Regions from separate parts of the Homo sapiens genome. Here all the other regions are linked to region 3. The links are contacts of gene promoters, found by promoter capture Hi-C in human tissues and cell types (Jung and others, 2019). All regions are on one chromosome and are shown on one strand. Each heading gives the region's core, a stretch centred on a gene start or on the middle of the fragment in contact. The rest is flanking DNA. Distances are from core to core; before and after follow the strand shown.

Region 1 (2,700 bases), core at 105-2,604, 130 kb before region 3:
AACCTCTGCCTCCTGAGTTCAAGCGATTCTCCTGCCTCAACCTCCCGAGTAGCTGGGATTACAGGCACCCACTACCAAGCCCAGCTAATTTTTGTATTTTTAATAGAGACGGGGTTTCACCATGTTGCCAGACTGGTCTCGAGCTCCTGACCTCAGGTGATCCGCCCGCCTCAGCCTCCCAAAGTGCTGGGGTTACAGGGGTGAGCCACCGCACCCGGCCATGACCACCCTTTTCTTTCATCACAGTCACTCCAGTGGGTACGTGGTGGCATCTCATTGTGGTGTTATGCTGGGTATCTTTTTTTTTTGGAGACATGGTCTTACTCTGTCACCCTGGCTGGAGTGTAGTAGTGGTACGATCTCGGCATACTGCAGCCTCAACCTCCCAGGTTCAAGCAGTCCTCCCACCTCAGCCTCCCAAGTAGCTGGGACTACAGGTGTGCACCACCACGCTCGGCTAAATTTTGTATTTTTTGTACAGATGCGGTTTTGCCATGCTGCCCAGTCTGGTCTCAAACTCCTGGCCTGAAGTGATCCGCCAGCCTTGGCCTCCCGAAGTCCTGGGGTTGCAGGCGAGAGCCACCGTGCCCGGCCTGTGCATCTTTTCATGGGTTGACTAACCATGATCACAGCACAGGTTTTTTAGTCCCCGCTGTCTACAGAATCAGAGAATGTGAGTGTCCAGGCTAGGGGACTTGGTAGAGGGAAGAAAGCTGGAGACTGAGAGTCAAGGTCTTTGCCTCCACTGGGGGTGGAGGTAGAGGGTGGGGAGGCAGGACCTGGGACCCAGGTCTCCACTGGCTATTGCCAACACTGCATGATCAAGTCTACACCTCTTGCTCCTGCTACCAGTGACTCCACACCTCCACAGCCATAATTTTAGAAAAATCTTTTGGCTGGGCGCAGTGGCTTATGCCTGTAATCCTAGCACTTTGGGAGGCCGAGGAGGGTGGATCATTTGAGGTCAGGAGTTCGAGACCAGCCTGGCCAACACGGTGAAACCTCGTCTCTACTAAAAATACAAAAATTAGCCGGGCGTGGTGGTGAGCACCTGTAATCCCAGCTACTCGGGAGGCTGAGGCAGGAGAATCGCTTCAACCTGGGAGGTGGAAGTTGCAGTGAGCCGAGATCACACCACTGCACTCCAGCTTGGGCGACAGAGTAAGACTCCCTCTCAAAAAAAAAAAAAAAATTTTTTTTTTGGCTGGGCACAGTGGCTCATGCCTGTAGTCCCAGCTACTCACGAGGCTGAGGTGGGATGATCCCTGGAGTCCAGGAGTTTGAGTTCACCTGGCCAAAGAGGCTGGCTGGGAAGATCTGAGGCCCAGCCATAGGGCCCCAGGTAGGGCAGTGTCCACCCTGCCTCCTGGGGAAGCACTGGAGGAGGCATGGGGGTTGTGCTGGGCTCTGCAGTCCCTTCGACCCAGCTATGCTATGGCCAGCTGCCACGTGCTCACCTGGCCAGAAATTGACCCACGGGGCTCCTGACCACTAGCCCCAGGCAAGAGGAGCACACAAGGCTTGGGGAGATCAAGCTTTGAAATACTTCCCAACACACAGTCTGGAACATTCTCCGAACATCTGACTCCCATAGTGTGAGCAGAGAACCTACTCTTGAATGCTGGTCAGGATGGGAAATCCCTCCTGGAGGGCAGATTCTATGGAGCTGGTCCCTGCCCCACAGCAGAAATTTTGCTGCAGTGAACCATTTCTTGGAATGCCTGTGCTTGCAGGGCACACGCCTGTGGCAGCACCAACTGTGATCCCTGGAGTGTGAAGTCACATCAAGGCTTTGCACATCTGAAACATATGCAATTGTCCTGAGAAATTCTGGAAGTTCCAGAAGAAATAACACACAAATTGCTAATAACACAGCAAAAGTAGCTGAAGAGATGTGTGTTCTCAGGACAGAACCCCTTCACACACTCGCAAGTCAGTATGTGTGGTGTATTGTTATTTTGTTTATTTATTGATGGAGTCTCTGTCTGTCGCCCAGGCTGGAGTGCAGTGACATGATCTCTGCTCACTGCAACCTCCACTTCCTAGGTTCAAGCGATTCTCCTGCTTCAGCCTCCCGAGTAGCTGGGACGACAGGCGCATGCCACCATGCCCGGCTAAATTTTTGTATTTTTTTTTTTTTTTTTTTGAGACGGAGCCTCGCTCTGTCGCCCAGGCTGGAGTGCAGTGGCGTGATCTGGGCTCACTGCAAGCTCCGCCTCCCGGGTTCACGCCATTCTCCTGCCTCAGCCTCCCAAGTAGCTGGAACTACAGGCATCCACCACCACACCCAGCTAATTTTTTGTATTTTTAGTAGAGACGGGGTTTCACCACGTTAGCCAGGATGGTCTTGATCTCCTGACCTCACGATCCGCCTGCCTTGGCCTCCCAAAGTGCTGGGATTACAGGCGTGAGCCACCGCGCCCGGTGAATTTTTTGTATTTTTAGTAGAGATGGGGTTTCATTGTGTTAGCCAGGATGGTCTCGATCTCCTGACCTCGTGATCCGCCCACCTCAGCCTCCCAAAGTACTGGGATTACAGGCGTGAGCCACCGCATCCGGCCAGTGTATTGTTATTTTATTACACAATTGTGGAGCTCAAGACAAAGTACTGTATCACAACAGAAATTAAAAACACTAATGGTCAAAACCATGAAGGAAAAGAATCGTCGTAACTAAAAAAATATGGAGAATGAAAATGAC
Region 2 (2,700 bases), core at 49-2,548, 230 kb before region 3:
TCTGAAAGTCTCAGTAGAAATGGAGTGATGTGAAATGCCCAAGACCCCATTATTTTGTAAAGAAAGGACACCTCAAAATACTCTAATTCCACATGTCTCCGCTGCCTGGTGGGTCCTGTGAGGGCGGCGGGGATGGCTCCCCCCGCGTCCTGAGGCCTAGTCTTGGGAGACCCACTCACAGCAGGCGCTGGCCGTGCCGTCCTCACACAGCGATGCCTGGTCCTCGCGGGAGGACAGAGTTTCACTCGTAGGTAGAAGCTCAGCCCAGCAGGTGCTCAGTGGAGACACCGTCTCCCAAATCAGGTTTTGTTGTGTGTGGGTTTTGTTCAAGTGTGACTTCTGTCTTTAAGGAGTGTTAAGGCCAGCTGGGTTTTGGGTTTTCAGTGCTGAGAGGTGAAGTCCAACCACAGGGCCCTGCACCCCCGAGTGCTGGCGGGAGGCCGCGTCTCCTTTTGGCACCACAGAGTTGATATCGTTAAAGAAAAGCTCTCCCGGTCGCTAGTTCTGGACACCCTTTTCCCTTACGGCTGCCGGTGGCGTGTCCACGCTCAGGGCAATGACGATGCCCTCGCCGTCTTCTGTCTTGATCCGCTTCAGCTCCGGCTGCTCCGGCTGGTCACCGTTGTGGCGCTTTGTGGGCAGGGAGGCCGATGCGGATGCGTGTGTTGCCAACATGTGCAAAGGACTCGCCGCGGCTGAAATGACACGAGGGAGTCAGAACCCCACGCTCTCACGTGAACCCTCGCGACTCAGAACCCCACGCTCTCACGTGAACCCTCGCGAGTCAGAACCCCACGCTCTCATGTGAACTCTCGCCCTCTAAGGGTCCTGCCACTCCCAGGCCCGCGGAGGCTCCCACAAGACCCCAGGGACTGGCCCACGGTGGCCAAGGGCACAGGAGCCTGGGCTGGGCCCTTGGGACCCCAAAAAACTGCAGCAAGTGAACTGCCTGATTAGCGGACATTTTTATTAACAGCTGGCATCATCTTTGTTATGTCCTATAAATAGGCTATTTTGATGTCACTGCTGGGGGAGAAAGGCTGAGTCCAGTAGTGGTTGAGGCAGACAGGAGATGGCCCTGCTGGCTCGGCGAAGGAGTGGCTGCCGCTCGCTGCTCTCCCTCATGCGGAGGCCCTGCCCTCGCCCCCCCACCACCCGCACAAGATGCTCCTGGACCATTTCCACACAGAAGGGAGCGGGGCTCCATCTGTCCCATAGGAGAGAAGCACCACAGTTTCTCATGGATGCTGCTCACCTGTGTCCTGGGTCAGTCCACAGAGGTGTGTGGGCAGAACAGAGACTGCTGGCTGCTAACGGCTGACCAGGCTGAGTTAATTCCAAAGGCCAAGCTTCCAACTAACATGCGATGGGTAATGTTATGTGCCAGCCTGGCTGAGCCACAGTGCCCAGATTTTGGTCAACCATTAATCTGGATGTTTCTGTATAGTTACTTCTTTAGATGAAATTAACATTTAAATCAGTCAGCTCTGAGTAAATCAGCTGATCGCCATGAGTGGGTGGGCCTCATCCAATCAGGTGAAGGACTAAGAAAAGACTGAGGTCCTCTGAGGGGAGCACTCTGCCCTGGATGGCCTCTGGACTCTTGAGAATCCAGCACTGACTCTTTCCCCGGGGTTCGGTCCACCCTGCAGATGCTGAGCTTGGCAGGCCCCACAACAGAGTGGGCAGATTCCACAGAATCTGTCTCCAGGCCGCCGCCTTGGCTCTGTTTCTCTGGGGCACCCTCACCTACCAGGTGCCATCAGGACCCCACCATCTCCAGCTTCCGGCACAGGCCAGTCCTCCTTGTGGGCGGCGGCATTTCTGGAAGACGCTGTCACCTCCCCAGGGGGCACTTCTTGGTGGGCCCCGTGATGCTCTGAGAAGCAGGTCCTAGGCCCCTAGGCTGCGCACACACCAGCCACTGCACTTCTCTAACCCAAGACCAACTCAGAGCACCCCAGGGTGGGAGCAGGAACACACCCCTGGGAGGCCCCAAAGCAGCTGTGCAGCAACCACTTCAGGCTGTCCCAGGAGGCTCAGAGCAGACACGCCTACAGGGCAGTACCTGAACCCAACCACAAACACAGCACACATGGTACGCTACGCCCTGGTGCCTAGAGATGTGGGAGGGGGACTTGCCCACCTGTCCGTCAAGGGCCAGCCCTCTCAGACCACAGGCCCTGGCGTGGGCAATACCCGCCTCCTACTCGCAGTCCCCTGCAGGGACGCTGGCTGGTCAGAGACCGACCTCCGCCCCCAGGTCTTCCCTAGCGGAGCGGATGTGAGTCCGGCCAGGTGCGTGGTCAGCTCCTCATGGCCAGATAGCCGGGGCAGCCACGAAGAGCGGGAGTCAACACTGGGCTCCGAAGAGACTCAAGCAGCAAACGGGGACCCAGTGACATCGGGTCAGCCGTGAGAGCCCCGTTTTAGAATTCAGGACATAGCCCTGAGGCCACAGAGGTGTGTTCCCTGGAAGCCAAACCCCTGTCAACAGTGTGGATGTGTGACTTTATCGTGTTCCCTTCTCCTTTCCACCTCTGAGCAACAGAAATAGCAGAGGACCAATTTACACATAAAACATGAACAAGAGGCCAGGTGCGGTGGCTCACGCCTGTAATCCCAGCACTTTGGAAGGCTGAGGCGAGAGGATCACCTGAGGTTACGAGTTCAAGACCAGTCTCGAACTGGCCAGCATGG
Region 3 (2,700 bases), core at 10-2,509:
AGCCAACAAGCAGGGAAATGCCAGTCAGGGCCACAGGAGCCCCTGCGTGCTGACAAGGATGAACGCGTGAAAAGGCAGATATCCTTGTCAACAGGCGTGGGGGCTGTGGAGGAGCTGGCCCTGCCGTTTCCTGTTGCTGGGAACCTGGACTGTGCCGCCGCTTTGGAAAGCCATTGGCACGATTTGCAGAGTTGACCGCCTATACCTTCTCACCCGGCAATTCTACTCTCAGGTTAGTACCTTAGATAAAGGGCTGCCAACGTTCAGAAAATGACAAGCGTGCGAAAGTTCACGGCAGCTTGACTCCTAAGAAGCTGGAAACAGCTCAAATGTCCCCAGTGGACGGGGCAGGCAAACTGTGACATGAAGCCAGTGAAGGAGTCGCCGCTGGGGTCAGCAGCCTGGATGAAACAGCGCGGTGGTGGGCTGAAGAAACAAGACACAGGAGGCTGCCTGATTCCACGAGCCACGCTGAATTTAGGCCGAACACTCATGGCTGCGCAGGGAGCAGTCTTGGCTGGGGTGGGGAGTTGTCAACAGGTGGGGGCGCTGGGGGCCTTCCAGGGCCTGGAAATGTGCCCTGTCCGCCCTTTCCCACCAGGCCGAGCAGCTCCCAGCTCCATCTGTCCAGGGGACCCTCACCCCCTTGCTGCCCCCACCCAGGGCATTTCCAGAGCCCTCACCCAGGGGACGGCGCAGAAGCCGAGGGTGCACCGGGCTCCCCAGTTGTGCGCGAGCCCGAGTCACGGGCAGGGGGACAGCGGCCGCCGGGCCGCTAGGATTGCTCCAGGGTCGCTAGGGGGGAAGGGGAGGGGCCGAAAGTTCCACGGCACGGGAGAAGCCGCCTCGCTGGACCCCGCTCCCCTCGCCCAGGGTGGGTTCCCACCGCGAAACCCCGGCCCAGCCCTGCGGAGGGCCCCGAAGGGCACAGACCCGGCAGTCCCCGCGCGCTCCCGGTCACCCACCGAGGACCCACCTGCCTCCGGTCACTGAGCGGCCAGACCTGCCCGCCGAGCCTGGGGTCGCGCGTGGGGGCAGCCGCTCGCGGCTCCAAACTCCTCGCGCAGCGGGGCCGCGGGGAACTTTCCGAGGCGCGCTCCCCTGTCCCAGCGCAGAGGGGGCGCGAGGGGCTCCGCGGTGGCCTCGGCTTCCAGAGCACACGGCAGGGGCGCCCGCCAGTCCCGCCACCAAAGCCGCGCCCCCCGCCCCGCGCCGGGTCTCTGCGCCGCCGCCACCTGCCCGCCGCCAGCTGGGAATGCGCCGCGCCCCGCGCCAGGGCCCGGTATTAAAATAACCCCAGCGGGCAGCAGGCGCGCGGAGGGGACGGCGCCGGGTGTCTAGGGGGCGGCGCTGACCGCGCGGCGCCGGGAAGACGCGGGGGTCGCGGGGCCGCAGCGGGGTCGGCGGAGGGTCCCAGGCGGGTCTCGCGTCTGCGTCTGCGGAGCGAAGCTGCCTCCAGCCCGGCTGCCCCAAGGCTGACCCCGCAGCCCCTCTTGGGTTCTCCGCCTCCAGCGTTCACCCCTGCGCCCCTCACGCCCGTGTTTGCAGGGCACGGAGCCTGGGATTCTCCGTGTCCACCAAGCCCTGGACCCGCCCGCGCGCAGGTGGGGGGCAGGAACACCCCTAAACCCCGAGAGGGTCATAGAAAGGAGGTAAGGGAGGGAGGGAGTCACCCGCCCAGGCGGGGACGGGCTCTTTGGGGGCCTTGACCCCGCCCCTGTTGCGGGTCTCCCACAGATGCTCTTAGAAGCCCACGCAGCCTCTCCAGGCCTCGGCAGGGACTCGTGGTGGCCACATCCACGGAAGTGACGCTGGGAGCTGCAGGGCCCCGCGGGGTAGGAGGAAGGACCCCACAGCCTCACCCTCGAGCCCCTGAGCTGGGTGCTGGCCCCCACTCGGTTTCACTTGCTGCTCGGAGGTAGGATGTGGGCCTTCACTCATGCTGAACCCCTGAAAGAAAAAGACACAGAACATTAATAAATTAGACTAGAGGAGAGCTGGAGAGCTGTGAACACGGGGTCTAAAGGGCCCCCAGCGAGGAGCTGGCCTCGCCCACTCCACTCCGCCCGGGGCTCATCTGCTGCCTGAGGCCGCGGACCGGCCCCTAAAGCTGAAGGGGTTCTGCTGGGGGAGAGGAGGTGGCCAAGTGTGAATGGCCGAGAGGCTCCTGCAATCAGCTGGATCCGGGGGAGCCCCAGATGCCCACCAGTCCCCTCCGTGGGACGTTTGCCACGTGCTGGGGAGGCGAGGCTGGGCTGGAGAGGGCGGGAAAAGTCCCTCTGGTCTCCGAGCGTCCGCTGGACGGAGCAAGGGTCACACAATAAGACAGTTCATTCTCTGTGAGCTGAAAACAGCCGAACTGAAACCAAATACAGCTGCAGCTTCCGACCCGAAAGGGGAGCAGCTCATCCTGCCTGTGCGCGGGAGGAAAGGGGGTGGAAGGCTGCCTCCGACGTGATGGTTCTGTGAGAGCTGATTACTAAGCTGGAGTCTAGGGGCTAGGGCTGGGGAAAAGCACTCAGGACCCAGAATGCCTGCTCCAAGAATTAAATTTCCCGCAAGCCAGCTGCCGAAACGATCTGCTGTCACCTCAGCCAGTTCACCGAGTAGCTGCTGAAACGACCTGCCCTGACACGAACACCGGGTTTTTTATTTTTTATTTTATTTTTTTATTATTTATTTATTTATTTTTTTGAGATG
Region 4 (2,872 bases), core at 128-2,627, 200 kb before region 3:
ATCAAATCATAGGACGTAAATGCAAACAAAAGAAAGACATATGGCATCTTTTCAAATAGGATTCCTCAGACCATCTCATTTCACCCTCAGATGTCCTCTGTGGATTGACCAAAAAGCTATACCATAGGTAGACAATACAAAACACCTGGCTTTTGTTGTAAGCCAGGAGGGAGGAAGTCAGAATAAGGTCTGAGGCACTGGGAAGGGCGGCTCAGAGAATCTCATGGCACAGGAAGAGCCCGTGAGGGTCAGTATTCTGACAGCCAAGGGTACAGCTGAGGACAGAAAGAAATTCAAAGTACATTGGCCAGGCGCGGTGGCTCACGCCTGTAATCCCAGCACTTCGGGAGACCGAGGCAGGCAGATCACCCGAGGTCGGGAGTTCAACACCAGCCTGACCAACATGGAGGAACCCCGTCTCTGCTAAAAATACAAAATTAGCCGGGTGTGGTGGCTCAAGCCTGTAGTCCCAGCTACTCATGAGGCTGAGGCAGGAGAATCGCTTGAACCTGGGAGGCGGAGGTTGCAGTGAGCCGAGATCGCGCCATTGCACTCCAGCCTGGGCAACAAGAGCAAAACTCTATCTCAAAAAAAAAAAAAAAAGAGAGAGAGTAATGTCCATGAACTAGGAGGAATCTGGAGAAACTAATCCCTCTCCCGCTTAATTAGCTGGAGCCACGAGGCATGAAATGACACAGGAGTGGCCTTACTGGGGAAAGAGATGCAGCTGTAGACTTACAGACCTCCATCTAGACAGGAGAGAAAATGTTTCAACAGAAACAAGTTTAATAGCAGTTCAGCAGAGAAGGGTGCCTGACGTGTGCTAGTCTGTCATTCCCTGCCGACGTGAGCTGTGCAGGCACCTGCAATAGACGACAGAAAGCAGGGCATGCATGAGGGGTCCCGTGGGGTCCTCGCCACTTCACGACTGTGGTCCAGGAGAGCCTTGCTCCAAGGGCTCTGCTCCCCAAAAGACCTGTCCTGACTTGGGCCCCCCCAAAACTGAGGCCAGGCCTTTATCCAGCCACCCTCTTTAGCAAGAAAGCCTTGTCCTGTTCATAGGTAGTTCTCAAATAAATGGATGTTAGAAAAAACACACAGAAATACCACTTAAGAGAAACACATTAGAGTCTAATAAAGCTTCTTAGAAACACACTGACAAAGCCCCAGGTAACTGGTATCTCAAACCATCAGAATAAGCTGTAAACTCTGAGGGACCCTCACACACTCCCACAGAGCAAGCTGGACCCCATGTGGAGTTTCTCTCCTTGACAAAGCCATAAAGCCATGGTCACTGGAACATGGGTAGAAGTTATTATCTGGTTGTGTGTGTGTGTGTGTGTGTGTGTGTGTGTGTGTGTGAGAGAGAGAGAGAGAGAGAGAGAGAGTGTGTGTGTGTATGTATATAGTTTGAAGCACAGCCTCAGTTTTATAGAGTAAATACGGCCAGAATTTAGCATGCAATATGTTAAGAGACCCTGACATGTAACTGAATATGGAACTACTCTCCAAATCCAGCATTTTCCTAATGGTCAATTAAGAGATACCCCCTTGCTGTAGACAGGAAGGCAGGCAGGACAGGGTATAGACACTCCAGGTATGGGGGGTGGGCACAAGGTGGGCCAGAGGGGAGGCTGGGTCTCATTCTGTACCTTCCATGATTAAAGACCCCCAAGCCCCTCCACAAAGGAAATATGGAAGACGTGGCTGGTAGGCTTTTTTTTTCCTTTTTGAGACAGGGTCTTGCTCTGTCACCCAGGCTGGAGTGCAGTGGTGTGATCACAGATATCTGTAACCTCTGCTTCCTGGGCTCAGGTGATCCTCCCACCTCAGCCTCTGGAGTAGCTGGGACTACAAGCGTAAGCCACCACACTCAGCTAATTTTTTTTTATTTTTTGTAGAGACAGGGTCTCGCCATGTTGCCCAGGCTGCTCTCGAAATCCTAGAGTCACGCGATCCACCTGCCTCGGCTCTCAAAGTGCTAGAATTATAGGCATGAGTTACTGTGCCCGGCCGGTAGGCTATTTTTTAACATAACATGTTTATACATCTGTGGTTAAAACAAAAAAGGTTTTTCCCCTTCAATAAATAGAAAACAGTTGCCCCTGCACCATCCTTACCACTAAGCCATGTAGTTTAGATGTTTTTTTAAAGGATCATTTACTCATTAAAGCCTCAAAGAAATTCTATAGATGTTCCTGGTTACTTAATGAATTAAAAAACTATAAGCATACATACATTTCTTCTCTATGTTTTTAATATTCTATATTTCAAACCTACCCACTGCCAAATTATTTCAAATAGCAAGATTCTCATATACATCCAGTAAACAGCCAACACAACACAGATACACAGAGAAAAAACCTACATAATCTAAAGGGTTAAAATTATTGGCATAACAGAGCGAGACTCTGACTCAAAAAAAAAAAAAAAAATTATTGGTGTGTGAGCTGACCAAAGGGAATATTTTGCAGATTTCAAAGTGTCTCTTGGGGGTAGCCCCGGGGTTCCACGACCAGGTGGGCTCCCCGGCTGAGACAGGGCACACCACGTTCATCTGTTTTTTACCCCGGCCAACTGGTTAAGATGTCTTCTAAGTGTTCCTTGGTAAAATGCGGTTTGAAAACTGTCTCTGCAAACTTCAAAACTTCTGTCCATTAGCAGGATTAGATGAGGAAGACAGGAGAATGCCAAAGGGAAGGATAGGCTGGGTTTTAAATTTCTCCTACATTTCAAATATGAACTGCATTGGTCAAAGGGAAATATCTCAAACAATCCACACTTCACAAATCCTATGCAGACACATGAATTTCCACAACAGTAAAGCATGCAGGCCTAGACGCTCCTCCAGAACCACGCTTCCTTCTGCTCC
Region 5 (2,762 bases), core at 176-2,675, 140 kb after region 3:
ATCGTGCAGGCCACATGGCTTTCTGGGTGGCCTGGATGGCGGGCCCTGCCCAAGGTCACATGGGGTCGTTACCAAGCCTGCCTTGAGACCAGGCCTCCAGGTGCCCACCCCAGACTCTGTCCACACCATGGGGCCCTGGGGGACAGACGCTGCACGTGCCACGGCAGAGCCCCCATGCACTCAAAGCCTCTCTGGGGGCAGACACCCCCCCACGGCCTCCTAGCACCTCCTCAGTTCCTTCCCTCCATGAGGGAGTCGAGCCCAGCCGCCTCCACACCACGCTGGCGGAATAGACCCTCCTTCAGCAGGGTCAGGCCAGCACCCACCTGACTTCCAGGCCTGTGCAGTGAAGCTGGGACCTTGGACTCCCCGGCCCCAACAGACACAAGACCTCCCACCCTTGTGCTCAGCATGGACAAGCCCCTGGGCCTTGGGGTGGGCCAACTGCCATTTCCCGCCCAGCAGGCCTGACTCTGGCCATCACCAGGAGAGGGACCCTTTCAGCCCATGCCTCTGGGACAGAGAGGAGGACAGCCGCCCCTCGGCTCCCCCCATCGTCCCTCACCGACTCCAGCCACCCCTGGAGGCCCCGGCCAGAGCTAAGGGCTTCCCTTCCACTCTGCGGCTCCTGTCTCTTGACTGGCCCAACACCCAGGGAGGCTCCTGACCAACCCACTTTTCGTATAGGGAAACTGAGGCGTGGGTTAGGAAGTGGGAGGCTACCAAAGGCTGCGCCTGGTTTTCCCACGAGCTGGGGGCCAGGGGTGGAGGTAGGGCGAACCCAGGGAGCCCAGCCTGGCTCTGGAGAGGGTCCCCCACTTCCCTGCACGGTCTCGGGCTGTTAGTCATTGCCCAAGGGCGGGTGTGGGTCGGGGAGTGTTCAGGGTGTTGCGAACAGGGGAAAGCGCCACGGCCCGAGCGCAAGTGCTCCCCACTCCCTCGGGGAGGCCACCCATACAGGGAGGGCTGCAGCAGCCCCACCAAATATAGCCCGCGCCCCCCGCCACCGCGGACCGAGCTATTTATACCCGGACCGGGCTTGGCCGCCGGCGCAGCCATCTCCTGGCCCGAGCCCAGCCCCTGAGGGCAGCCCGACGGGTGGGCGCCGGGCCGGACCGGGGGAGACGAGACTGGGCAGCCAGGTATGCGAGGGCGCGGAGGGGCGCGGCTGGCTCTCGGGAGCCCTCGGTGGGGCCCGCTCGGGGTCGAGAAGGCTAGTCCATGCCCCGGGCGCCCCCGGACCTGATGGACAAAGTGGGCGGGGTGGGGGTGAGAGCGCGGACCCCGAGGTCGCCCCCTTGCCCGGCACGGGGGAGCTCCTGGGCCCCGGCCCGCGCGCGAGCATCGCGGCCGCGCCTACCTGCCGCCGCTGGGCCGCCTCAGCCCGCCTCTCGCCGCCTCTCGCCGCCTCTGCCCGCCTCTGCCGGTCCGCTCCGCGCCGGGGGCGACTTTAAGTGCTCGGGTCGCTGGCGCGGCACGTCCCCCGCGCACGTCACCGCCTGGCGCCGCCCCTGCGCGCCCCGCCCGGACCCCGCGCCGCCTCCGGACGGGCTCCCGGGCCGCAGCTCCCCGACGGCGCGTCCCGCAACCCCGCCGGGCCCAGGGACCCCCCCAACCGGAACCGGCCCCGTCGGCGCCCCCGGCCCGGAGCTGGCCCGCCCCCTCTGCTCCTCGGGACTGGGTCTTCCCGGCCTCGCCTCCCCCGGAGTCCAGGCTCGCTTCGCCCCTCCGCCCCGCCGTCCCTCCGTTTCCCCGCCTCGGAGCGCAGCGCGGCAGGTCCCAACGTCCTCCAGGGCAGCGACCCCTCGCCCCCCAACGCCGGGGCCCCTTTGGTGGGGAGGTGCGCGCGGGTCCCGTGGGGTTCCGGCCGCCTGGCTCAGCTCCGGGGCCCACATCCTCCCTCTCTGAGGCCACGTCCGACCTGTCCCCCTTCAGACCTCCGCTTCCTCTCCGGTCCCGGTGCGGACGGCGGCTCTTCCTGGCTAGGGGAGCGGCCCGCGGCCTGCGCTGCCTGGATGTGGGGCACGGCCTCGCCCTCCCTGAACTTCCGTTTCCCCAGGTGGCTCCGCGCCCTGCGGGGCCCTACAAAGCCACCGACTCCAGCCCTGCGCCCCTGCCCCGCCCCTCTCGCGGCCCAGAACCCGACGCGGAGGCCGGGGCGGCTCCCACCTTCGGGGAGGCGAGGGCTGCCCACCCGCTGGACCTCGTGAGGTGCTTCTCCCAGCCTGTTTTCTCTCATTTGCAACATGGAAATAACGGGCCGCTTTGGGTGCTGAGGTTTGAGGTGGCTCCAGGGAGTAAGGCCTTTGTTGGCCTGGACCAAGGAGTCTAGTTGTCAGGGCCACCCTGCCAGGGCCACAGGAATGCTTTAACTGGCCCCTCCCGGACCCGGGGGCTTCGGGGACCGAGGCACTGGTAAGCCCGTGCCTTCACACACAAAGGAGGCAGGGGGTATCAATGGAGGACCCCTCCAGAGGGCAAGGGGAGGCCACCCCTGACAGTGAGGCCGTGTGGGCCTTGGCTCTCCATCTGCAGCCCAGCCTTGCGGGACATCAGGTCCAGTAAGGCCGCCTGTTCTTTCTATGTAATGTTACAAGCCCACCCTCCCGCTGGCATTCACAGAGGCTGGGTCTGGCCCTCACCCCTACCTGGGGCCCAACCACCCCCATCCCCAAACATCAAGATGAGGGCACGTGCCTGTGAGCAGAACACAGGCCTGTGGCAAGTGGTGAGGGGGCCTCCAACTTCACAGATGAAGACTC

Evidence for each region. The method cuts DNA at HindIII sites, captures the fragments that hold promoters and counts their contacts. A contact is called where the count stands out against the background at its distance.
Region 1: a fragment that was not itself captured here is called in contact with the fragment with the promoter of UTS2R in region 3 in 1 of the 25 tissues and cell types used here (bladder).
Region 2: a contact is called between a fragment that was not itself captured here and the fragment with the promoter of UTS2R in region 3, in 1 of the 25 tissues and cell types used here (IMR-90 fibroblasts).
Region 4: a fragment that was not itself captured here is called in contact with the fragment with the promoter of UTS2R in region 3 in 2 of the 25 tissues and cell types used here (IMR-90 fibroblasts and lymphoblastoid cells).
Region 5: a contact is called between the fragment with the promoter of SLC16A3 here and the fragment with the promoter of UTS2R in region 3, in 1 of the 25 tissues and cell types used here (dorsolateral prefrontal cortex).

Annotation. Positions count from the first base shown.
Region 1 is chr17:82,499,421-82,502,120 of GRCh38, reverse strand. No RefSeq gene overlaps it. Among named protein-coding and RNA genes, the nearest start is that of TRX-CAT1-8, 6.0 kb to the right of the region's middle. The HindIII fragment of the contact is 3,093 bases long and covers 1-2,700 here.
Region 2 is chr17:82,599,298-82,601,997 of GRCh38, reverse strand. It overlaps FOXK2 (forkhead box K2), which reads right to left. Exons shown (of 9, transcript NM_004514.4): 9 at 1-695. The coding sequence ends at 499. Among named protein-coding and RNA genes, the nearest start is that of FOXK2-AS1, 12 kb to the right of the region's middle. RefSeq lists an enhancer at 1,757-2,006. The HindIII fragment of the contact is 9,195 bases long and covers 1-2,700 here.
Region 3 is chr17:82,370,324-82,373,023 of GRCh38, reverse strand. UTS2R (urotensin 2 receptor) reads right to left here and starts at 1,259. Exons shown (of 3, transcript NM_018949.3): 1 at 977-1,259; 2 at 241-426. The HindIII fragment of the contact is 34,629 bases long and covers 1-2,700 here.
Region 4 is chr17:82,572,053-82,574,924 of GRCh38, reverse strand. All of the region lies in intron 4 of FOXK2 (forkhead box K2), which reads right to left. Among named protein-coding and RNA genes, the nearest start is that of FOXK2-AS1, 15 kb to the left of the region's middle. The HindIII fragment of the contact is 5,132 bases long and covers 1-2,872 here.
Region 5 is chr17:82,227,705-82,230,466 of GRCh38, reverse strand. It overlaps SLC16A3 (solute carrier family 16 member 3), which reads right to left and starts at 1,425. Exons shown (of 5, transcript NM_004207.4): 1 at 1,361-1,425. RefSeq lists silencers at 960-1,009, 1,020-1,179, 1,300-1,619, 1,780-1,919, 1,970-2,049 and 1 more. The HindIII fragment of the contact is 28,829 bases long and covers 1-2,762 here.